Regions from separate parts of the Homo sapiens genome. Here region 2 is linked to region 1. The links are contacts of gene promoters, found by promoter capture Hi-C in blood cells and fetal thymus (Javierre and others, 2016). All regions are on one chromosome and are shown on one strand. The core of a region is centred on a gene start or on the middle of the fragment in contact, and the rest is flanking DNA. Distances in the headings are between cores, read along the strand shown. Region 1 holds the start of EMILIN2 (elastin microfibril interfacer 2). Region 2 overlaps MYOM1 (myomesin 1).

Region 1 (4,628 bases), core at 2,079-4,578:
ATAAAATATAGTTTTCAAGTGCTCACTTAAGGTACTTGGCAGCATATAAAAAATTCATACTTGCAGCTTTCTGGCAGTCATATCCACGTTATTGTTCATGGCAGGGATCAGAAGTCCTGCCCAATTAGTCTGTTTCTTAGTGTGCTGAAGCTCTCTATCCTCCGGAAGCTTCCCTCTGTCTTGTTTCTTATGCAGGGCTCTCTGGTTCCTGAGTTTGTTGCATCCCTTCCTCCAGCTGGAGTAGAGAAAACAAAGAGGGTCTCTTGGGATCTTGGCCTCAAATCAAGAAATAACCTTGTGGCTGGGCACAGTGGCTAATGCCTGTAATCCCAAGACTTTAGGAGGCGAAGGCAGGAGGATTGCTTGAAACCAGGAGTTCAAGATCAACCTGGGCAACAAAGTTAGACCCCCCCGCCCATCTCTACAAAAAATAAAAAATTAGCTGGGCATGGTGGTGTGTGCCTGTACTCCTAGCTGCTTAGAAGACTGAAGTAGGAGGATCACTTGAGCCCAGGAGTTGGAGGCTATAGTGAGCTGTGATGGTATACAAAAAATCAGCCTGTTATGGTGGTGTGCGCCTGTAGTCCCAGCTATTCAGGAGACTGAGGCAGGAGGATTGCTTGAGCCCAGGGATATCGAGGCTGCAGTGCACCATGATTGCACCACTGTACTGCAGCCTAGATGAGAGAGCAAGACTCCATCTCAAGAGAAAAAAAAAAAACAAAAAAGTAAAAGAATGGAATAATAGGCCGGGCACAGTGGCTCATGCCTGAAATCCCAGCACTTTAAAAAGCCAAGACAGGAGGATGGCTTGAGATTAAGTGTTCAAGACCAGCCTGGGAAACGTGGTGAGATCCCATCACTACCAAAAATTCAAAAAATTAGCTGAGTGTAATGGCACACACCTGTGGTCTCAGCTACTCAGGAGGCTAAGGTAGGAGGATTGCTTGAGCCTGGGAGGTCGAGGCTGCAGTGAGCCATGATCATGCCACTGGACTCCAGCATGGGTGACAGAGTGAGACCCTTTCCCCCAAATAAATAAATAAAAATACAAAAGAGGGAAGTAACCTTCTGAAAGTCAAGAATGTTCTGTCTTCCAGGGGCAGACCCACAATAACATACATGGGCTTATGTCTAGAGAAAGACATGCAATAAACATTAGCTCACTTAGTTGACTGTCCATCAGGAACGCTAACACCCTTCATTGCATGGCAATGCCTGGAAGCTCTCCAAACACAAGCCCCGTGTCAGTTTGGGCTCACTCATGAATCCTCAGTATTTTTGCACAATGCCTAGCTTGTAACAGATGCTCAGAATGAAATTTATTTACCAATAAATGTTATTGATAGCTGATTAAATATAGTATTGTGGTCATCTCAATGACAAGTTGGCCCTTATACTCTTAGACAACTTCCTATTATAACTTTGATTTGACGGAAAAAACAGATTGACTTGATCAGTTCAATGCACTTTCAAGTTTGAGATTTACCTGTACCAGACACACATTGGAGTTGTTCTCTGCTAATTGTAGACACACACAACTTGTGTGTTTCCCCCATTTCCCCCCCTCTTCCTCTTCTTCATTTCTATACTCTGTTTCTACTCTATGAGTCTTTACGGCCAAGATGGTGTTAGGACAGGCAGGATAGGGAAGTCACACAGAAAGATACAGATTGGGTTACGAAAGACAGCTTTTTATCCCTTTCTGTTATTTCCCCCCCACGGTGGCTCTTTTGAAGGCTGGGATGACTTCAGTCCACTATTTGCATGATCTTCCGCTTAAGAGTCCAGGGACAGATGATGTCCTTACATGGTATAATGTTCTGCTTGGCCCTTGTAGTTTCTACTTAGGGACTTCTCTTTCTTTCATCTGCAAATCAAAAGGTCCAACAACACCATCAAAGAATATTAGAAACAAAATAGACCAATGGCTTCATTTAGTAAAGTAGGAACATAGCAAACGTTTTTATTTTTTATTTTTTGCGACAGATTTTCACTCTTTTTGCCCAGGCTGGAGTGCAGTGGTGAGATCCCGGCTCACTGCAACCTCCATCTCTCTGGTTCAAGCGATTCTCCTGCCTCAGCCTCCCAAGTAGCTGGGATTACAGGCATGTGCCACCGTGCCCGGCAAATTTTTTTTTTTTTTTTGTACTTTTAGTAGAGACGGGGTTTCTCCATGTTGGTCAGGCTGGTCTTGAACTCCCGACGTCAGGTGATCCACCCGCCTCGACCTCCCAAAGTGCTGGGATTACAGGCGTGAGCCACCCCGCCTGGCCCATAGCAAAGCTTTATTCACTTAACGAGTCATGGCCAACAGCGTCTGGTTAGCTCACAGAGGCCACAGTTTTATCTGTGGAGTCTGGTAACCACGCCACTCACGACCCTGTACATTGATTAGATGCAGCAGGTCATCTCAAACACACAGCTCTCTCCAACACCCCTTAGAATACAACACTTGGGTGGTGATTTTACTTAACATTCTGGTACTTCATCCCAAAAAGACATCGGTAGAGATTAGTGTAACTCAACAACAGGCAGAAAACATACAAGAAAGTTTAAGACGGATGTCTAGCAGTGCCTGAACTGTTAAGAAGCAAACGTGAGTAAATGCCTTAGTTTCAATAGAAAAAGAAAGTTCACAGTGGGACCTCAGAAGCAGAGGCTGTGAGATCACCTTTCAAGAATTGGAGGAGAATTGCAGTAAGTGATAGAGCCGGACGCTGAGCTGCAGCAGCCTCTGGGAATTGGCGGGGCTGTGGCTTGTCCTGTCCTGCCGCCCCCCGCGTGGCCTCGGAAACTGTCAGATGGTGCCTAAGGCAGAGTTGGGCAAAGAAAGAACCAGCGTTCGTTTCCTCCTGGACTCTCTAGGTCCATGGAGCTGGTGGGGGAACGGCCCTGTCTTGCCCGAGGAGGAAATTCGAGTCGAGCCCCCACTCCTCTCCCCGCGGGACTGATAAACATGTCCCTCATTCGCCCCGGGAGGCTGGCACCCAGGCACGACGCGAGGACGGCCAGACTCGCCGACGGCGGCCGCGTCCCGGGGGGCCGGGAGCGAGCCTGTCGGAAGGTGGGAGGCGGAGTCGCTCGGCATCTGGGAAGAGACCAAAGGAATGAGTCATTGGAAATGCTGTAACGTAGACCCTTATCCCAAACCCTTTCGCCCCTCCACCCCGAGCCCCCTGCCGAGAAGCGAAGGGACTGGAGACGGGGAGACTTGGTGGGGGGAGAGTCACGTTTCGGAGAGGGAAGTGAAATAAAGAGGGCGGCACCCGGGGGGACCTGTGCGTCATTGAGGGACCGGGGAGAAGCGCAGGGCGCACGGGGCTGCAGAAGGAGAAGTAGGAACGAGAAGCCGGAGGGGGCGGCCGCGGAGCACTGGTTGGAGCGCCGCGAAGCGCCCGAGCCTCTTGCCTTCGCGGGCGGCGCCCTGGCCGCCGGCAGCCTTGTGGCCGGTGCCCCGATCCGCCGCGCTCCGGACCCGGGCAGGCGGGGCGCGCCCGCTGCGCGCGGGATGTGGCAGCCCAGACGGCCCTGGCCCCGCGTGCCCTGGCGCTGGGCGCTGGCGCTGCTGGCCCTGGTTGGCGCGGGGCTGTGCCACGCCGGCCCGCAGCCCGGGTATCCCGCGCGGCCCAGCGCCAGGAACAAGTAAGTGCGCGCCCCTTGGCTGGCCCCAAACCGCCTACCCCTCCCCGGCCCCCAGTTGAGCCCCAGAGCTGCCCTGCCAAAGACGACGAGCGGCAGCCGGGGGCCTCCCTTGGACTTCCCCGGGCGGCTCCCTCTGCGGGGGACCGCGCGCTCCGCAGCCGGCGCCTCAGGCAGAGCTGACTCCGGGGGCGTGGGCGCAGAGAGCGTCCCGCAGACCCGGGCGATCCGAAAACGACTCCCAGGAATTCCATGAGCCCCTGGGACCATGGGTGCTTTTCTTTCCCGTCTTGGTCGGGTCCAGGCGCGCGCTCTCCAGAGGCGCACCCGGGCACCCTCCGGCGTCTGCTCGGTGAAGCTCCCGCCTCCGCAGAGGGCGACGGGCCCCCCCGACCCTCGCTCGGTCTGGTGCCGCAGTCCCCTCTCCCCTGGCCTCATTGTTCTCCGGGTTTACCCCGTGCCCCTCTCCCTCTCTCTCCTGCACCCCAGGAACTGGTGCGCCTACATCGTGAACAAGAATGTGAGCTGCTCCGTGCTGGAGGGAAGTGAGAGTTTTATTCAGGCTCAGTACAACTGTGCCTGGAACCAGATGCCCTGTCCGTCGGCGCTGGTGTAAGTCCTGGAGCCGGGGAGCGGGCGGGGCGCGCCCGGGCCGGGGCGGTGGGGGTGGGGTGGGGTTGCTGCGCTGGGCTCCAGTCCCTCCGGTAAATCCCTTCCAGATCCGGTGAAAAGCCCGCAGCGGAAAAGCGCTCCGAGCGCTCGCGGGGCACCGGCCACGCTGGGCTATTTAGGGAGTGGGTGCTGCCCGAGTGAGTGGGGAGGATGCGCGCGCCTCGGGAGTGTGGGGTCGCGGGGGCGTAGGAGAGGATGAACAAAGCTCCCACTCCCACTTCTGTTTTCTCCCTTTCAATGTTTGTTTGTAACATAAGGCAGCTGAATCTAATTGGATCCATATTGTGTGTTCTGGGGCACACAGAAGATTCCAA
Region 2 (5,349 bases), core at 1,750-4,249, 260 kb after region 1:
ACTCTTAAAAAAATGCCCTTACTCAAAGAACCTCTGAGCCTTCAGGGAGACTGATTTGACTGATAACTCTAGGTCTCTCGCTTCAGCTGGCCTCAGGTCAATTAAATTCTCAACTGCAATGCTGCAGTCGCAGTGGATTGATTTTGTCTATGCAGTGGGAAGGGAGAACCTAATGGGCGATTACACTAACAAAGAAAATATTCTAGTGGCAGTGGGTTTCCTACTTAATTTTATACTCAGAATTTGAAGCTGGATCTCCTCCTTGATAAATTTGATGAGGAATTAAATAATTATTTAAATAAGGGTCCTGTACATAGTAGACAAAAAATTCTATTGCAATTTAACAAAAGGTACATGATACTCAAATGGATGATTCTTTCTATAGATGCCCTAGCAAAACCAAAGCCCATATATTAGCCTATAAAGCAATGACAGCATTTTTTTTTTTTCGAGATGGAGTCTTGCTCTGTCACCCAGGCTGGAGTGCAGTGGCGTGATCTCAGCTCACTGCAACCTCCACCTCCTGGGTCCAAGCAATTCTGCCTCAGTCTCCCAAGTAGCTGGGATTACAGGTGCGGACCACCACACCCAGCTAATTTTTGTATTTTCAGTAGAAACAGGGTTTCACCATGTTGGCCAGGCTGATCTCGAACTCCTGACCTTGTGATCCGCCTGTCTTGGCCTCCCAAAGTGCTGGGATAATAGGCGTGAGGCACCGTGTCCGGCCAATGACAGCATTTCAGAATTTCTAACATGCCCCAGGCTAACCCACCAGGTAGTGCCTTGTGGAGATTAACTTGGTACAATATCACAGAAAAAGCCTGACAGAAAAGTCTACCTATAACATCCTCCTCAAATTTTCCTTTTTCTTTTTCCTTTTTTTTTTTGAGATGGAGTCTTGCTCTGTTGCCCAGGCTGGAGTGCAGTGATGTGATCTTGGCTCACTGTGACCTCTGCCTCCCAGGTTCAAGTGATTCTCCTGCCTTATCCTCCTGAGAAGCTGGGATTACAGATGCCCGCCACACGCCCAGCTAATTTTTTTTGTATTTTTAGTAGAGATGGGGTTTCACCATGTTGGCCAGGCTAGTCTCGAACCCCTGACCTCAGGTAATCCGCCCGCCTTGGCCTCCCAAAGTGCTGGGATTACAGGCGTGAATCACCGTACCTAGCCAAATTTTCTCTTTAGAATATCCCACAACTTAGCTGAGGTTTTCCAGAGCTGAGCTCCTATCAATTAATTATGGTTGAACTCTGAGAAATGCCTAAAGAGGCATATTCTCTCAAGTTGATTGAGGGATGTGGTTCTGATAATTAATGGGCAGGAAGCAAGTTTGATGTTCTGCTATCAAAGTAAAGTGGTCTTTGTGGTATTCTTATCCAGATGAGAGGCCATCCCACTTTCCCACAAAGTTGGGCTGGAAAAGTGGACCAAAATTTGGCATAACTTAGATTTTCTCAGAAACAACCTCTTAACCTGCTCATGAATGTGAAGAACTTAACTAAGATCTCAGGAGGTTTATGTATAGAACATGAGAGAGTTGTTGTCGTTGTTGCCTAAAAAGGATTTAAGAAGAGTTGTCACTAGTCAACTCCTCAACCTAAGCGAATCCTTAATACAGACACAGAGATAACTGATTTTAACAGATCTCATTTTACATTACTATTATTATTATTTTTTCTTTCCTATTCTTTTCTAATAGAGACAGGTCCCACTATGTTGCTCAGGGTGGTCTCCAACTCCTGGGCTCAAGTGATCCTCCTATCTGGACTCCCAAAGTGTTGGGATTACAGGGCCAAGACAGCATTCCAATGATCCCTCCAAGGCTTGCCCAGAACTCCTGGTATCCTAATGGGTTCAAGTGTGGCTCAGGACTAAAATGAACTATTTGGAAATTAACTCATTTCATCCCACTTTTCTTTCTCTTCCCCACAAAAAATGATAATAAAGGATAAAATTTAAAAGCTTAAATAAAATCACAGTAAACTGTTCACGTTCCTATACATTTTGTAATCTGATATGATAATTCTTTCTCATATAAAGTGTTTTACATGAGCATGAATATATCACTTTTATAAGCTTTAATTATTTGTTCTCCATGCTGTGGGTGTGCGTGGGGGTGTGCGTGTGTGTGTGGTGATGTTTAAAAAACTGAAGCATGGGACAGAATAGAAGCAGAGGAAAGTGAGTTAATGTAATGGGTCACGTGTAGTACTGAGCTGCCCTGGGTTTCAGACGAGGACTGGCGGCTGACCATTCAGCCTCATGCCCACCTTGGAGCCTCCACCAGACATTTCTTCCCCAGCTCACCCATCATAACCAGGGCAGGCAGTACAAGACGACTGGGGTGAAGTGCACACACTGAGGCTTCAAGACAGTGTCACACTCACTGGCAAACATGCTAGTCATTCATTATTTTTTCATTTAATAAATTAGCTATTATATACCTGGTACTATGTTAGACTCTCAGCACATGTACAGAAAAGACACAGTTCCTATTTTGAGGAGCTATGGTCTAAAGTACAGTTCACAAGCCTGTTTTCACACTGGAATTACCCAAATTGCTAAGTAAACAAACAAACAGCAATAAGCCTATGTTCAGGTACCCAGCCTAAGAGATTCTTTTTTTTCTTTTTTTTTTTTTTTAGAATATCTGATCTTCTGTCATCATCCCATCAGCCCTAAAGATCCTGATTTAATTGGTCTGGAGTTGAGTCCAGATAGCAGTATTTTCAAAACAGTCCTCGTATGATTCTAATGTACAGGCAAGATTGAAAACTACGGTTCTAGCAGATGAAAGAGATCAGTTAGCAAGCAAATACAAGTGCAGTTTTCTTTTTTAAATTTTCTTTCTTTTTTTGGGATGGAGTCTCTCACTGTCGCCTGGGATGGAGTGCAATGGCACAATCTCAGCTCACTGCAACCTCTGCCTCCTGGGTTCACGCGATTTTCCTGCCTCAGCCTCCCGAGCAGCTAGGATTACAGGCACTCACCACCACATCCAGCTAATTTAAAAATTTGGTAGAGGTGGGGTTCTGCCAAGTTGCCCAGGCTGCTCTCGAATTCCTAGGTTCCTCCAGCCTCAGCTGCCCAAAGTGTTGGGATTACAGACATGAGCCACAGTGCCTGGCCTCCGGTGCTTTCCTTTATGTAACTTTAATGAACTGAAATATATGATAACGTTGAAAAATAATACAGGTTAAATGATAAAAGAAATTATTATGTAATGATCTGAAACTCGTTGGACAATGAACACAGTAAACTCTGTTCTCATAAGAAACGGCAAGTCTGTCTTCTCTAGTAATCACGGCATCTTTGAAACTGGGAAATGAGGGCTGCCTCGAATCTATAAACCATTCAGTTGGGACCACTGTTAGTTTAGCCCAGGGGTCAGCAAACTATGGCCTGTGGGCTAAATCTGGCCCATTACCTCTTTTTGCAAGGGCTGCAAGCTAAGAATGGTTTTTATATTTTTAAATAGTTGAAAAAATTGAAAGAAGATTACTATTTCAAAACACAGGAAAATTATACAAGATTGAAATTTTATAATGCATATAACGCATCACATTATATAATACATATAATGTGCATGATAAAGTTTTATTAGAACACAGCCATGCTCATTAGTTTATGTATCCTCAATGGCTTCTTTTGTGTCATGGCAGAGTTAAGAAGTTGTGACAGAGACCACAGGGCTGTTGAGTGATAAATATTATCTGGCCCTCCACAGAAAAAGTTTGCTGACCTCTGGTTTAAACATAATAGCTACAATTACATAAATCCTACTTTCGTTTAAGGATTGTGCCCACTAGCTGGGCTGTTCTAGCTTCCCCTATGATTGGGAAAATATTCTTATGAGACTTAATGGCCAGGGTGTAATAGGAATAACATTCCAGGAATGAATGCTTGGAACAGTTGGTCCGGGAAGCTTAACTTGATCAAGAACTTCCGGGTTTTTAGGTATGCATCAGAACAGCCCCTAGACCACGTCAAACCTGGCTCAACCCTGTCCTGAGGTGCCTGTGATGGGACCAATGACTGTCATGTTCTAAGATCATTACTTATCAATTATATTCAGATAGCACACATTGATTGTTTTGAAAATTAGAGGAAAGCACAGAAAGGCCGAACCTTAGTTCAGTATCTTACACAGATAGGATTAGTTTTAATGAAAAGGTGAAAGCCCACCTGGACGGGTCTCTGCCACAACAGGGCCAGCAAGGTCAGATGGCTTCCCAACTCCCGCCTGGTTTATGGCTCGAACACGGAACACGTAGCTGACGCCCTCCTTGAGGCCTCGAACCTGGTAGAAGCAGGTGTAGAAGCAATGGGTGTTTGATGAAGCAGTGGCTGTTTTATGTCATTTAAACAGACGGGGCTCTTCCTCTGTAGTAATGATTTAGTGACCTAGCACCAGGGATACAAGACTTGTGGTCTAGATTTGATTCTGTCAAACACTACGCAGGTGACTTTAGCTGTAGATGGTCTTCTCTCTAGACCATCTGTAGATAGAGAGGAGTTTCCAATATCCATTCTCACTTTGATGTTTCTCCTTTTTAGTTAATTTAGTGGCCACCAACATCAGAAACAGAGACTAGTGTACGTAGGTGTCACATGCGTTAGCCACTGTATTCTTTGGTCAAAAGGACAAAATACAAAGTGCTCATTATAGCATATATGTCGCTTTTCCCCCCAATCCTTTTGAGACATTCCATGAATAATTTCAGATGGAATTCTTGGCAAAAGAGGAGAATTAAAAGCATGAATCATGAACACTTTCCATTTGTTTAAAAGCATGTTAAACTACTAAAACCAAAACAAACAATAATTGTTCCTGTAAATTTAATATAGCTATTTCTTACTAAATAGACATGAAATTAACACAATTGTGAGTTTGAATAATTTGTGAATAACCAAAGTGTATTAAAATTCTAAATCCTCAAGTTTTTAATGATCAAGATGTGTGCTGAGAATCCACTACATATGTGCCACTAAACTAGAATTACTAAGAGCTGTAAAAAAAAAGCATTTATAATTTATTTTTGTATGACAGTCCCACTTCATGTATATATACACACACATACATATATACACACATGTATATATATATACACACATGTATATATATATACACACACATCTATGTGTGTATATGTGTATGTATATATATGTGTGTATGTGTTTGTGTCTATATATATATATATATATATATATATATATATATATGTATGTATTTCTGAGACAGAGTTTCACTCTGTTGCTCAGGCGGAGTACAGTGGCACAATCTCAGCTCACTGTAGCCTGGACCTCCTGGGATCAAGCAATCCTCCTGCCTCAGCCTCTTGAATAGT

Evidence for each region. The method cuts DNA at HindIII sites, captures the fragments that hold promoters and counts their contacts. A CHiCAGO score of 5 or more calls a contact.
Region 2: a fragment that was not itself captured here is called in contact with the fragment with the promoter of EMILIN2 in region 1 in 4 of 17 cell types (activated CD4 T cells, naive CD4 T cells, naive CD8 T cells and 1 more); the score reaches 6.5 in activated CD4 T cells.

Annotation. Positions count from the first base shown.
Region 1 is chr18:2,843,678-2,848,305 of GRCh38, forward strand. EMILIN2 (elastin microfibril interfacer 2) reads left to right here and starts at 3,329. Exons shown (of 8, transcript NM_032048.3): 1 at 3,329-3,645; 2 at 4,132-4,254. The coding sequence starts at 3,512. RefSeq lists silencers at 3,547-3,596, 4,217-4,306. The HindIII fragment of the contact is 11,570 bases long and covers 2,285-4,628 here.
Region 2 is chr18:3,108,112-3,113,460 of GRCh38, forward strand. It overlaps MYOM1 (myomesin 1), which reads right to left. Exons shown (of 38, transcript NM_003803.4): 22 at 4,187-4,301. Among named protein-coding and RNA genes, the nearest start is that of LPIN2, 98 kb to the left of the region's middle. The HindIII fragment of the contact is 1,849 bases long and covers 2,076-3,924 here.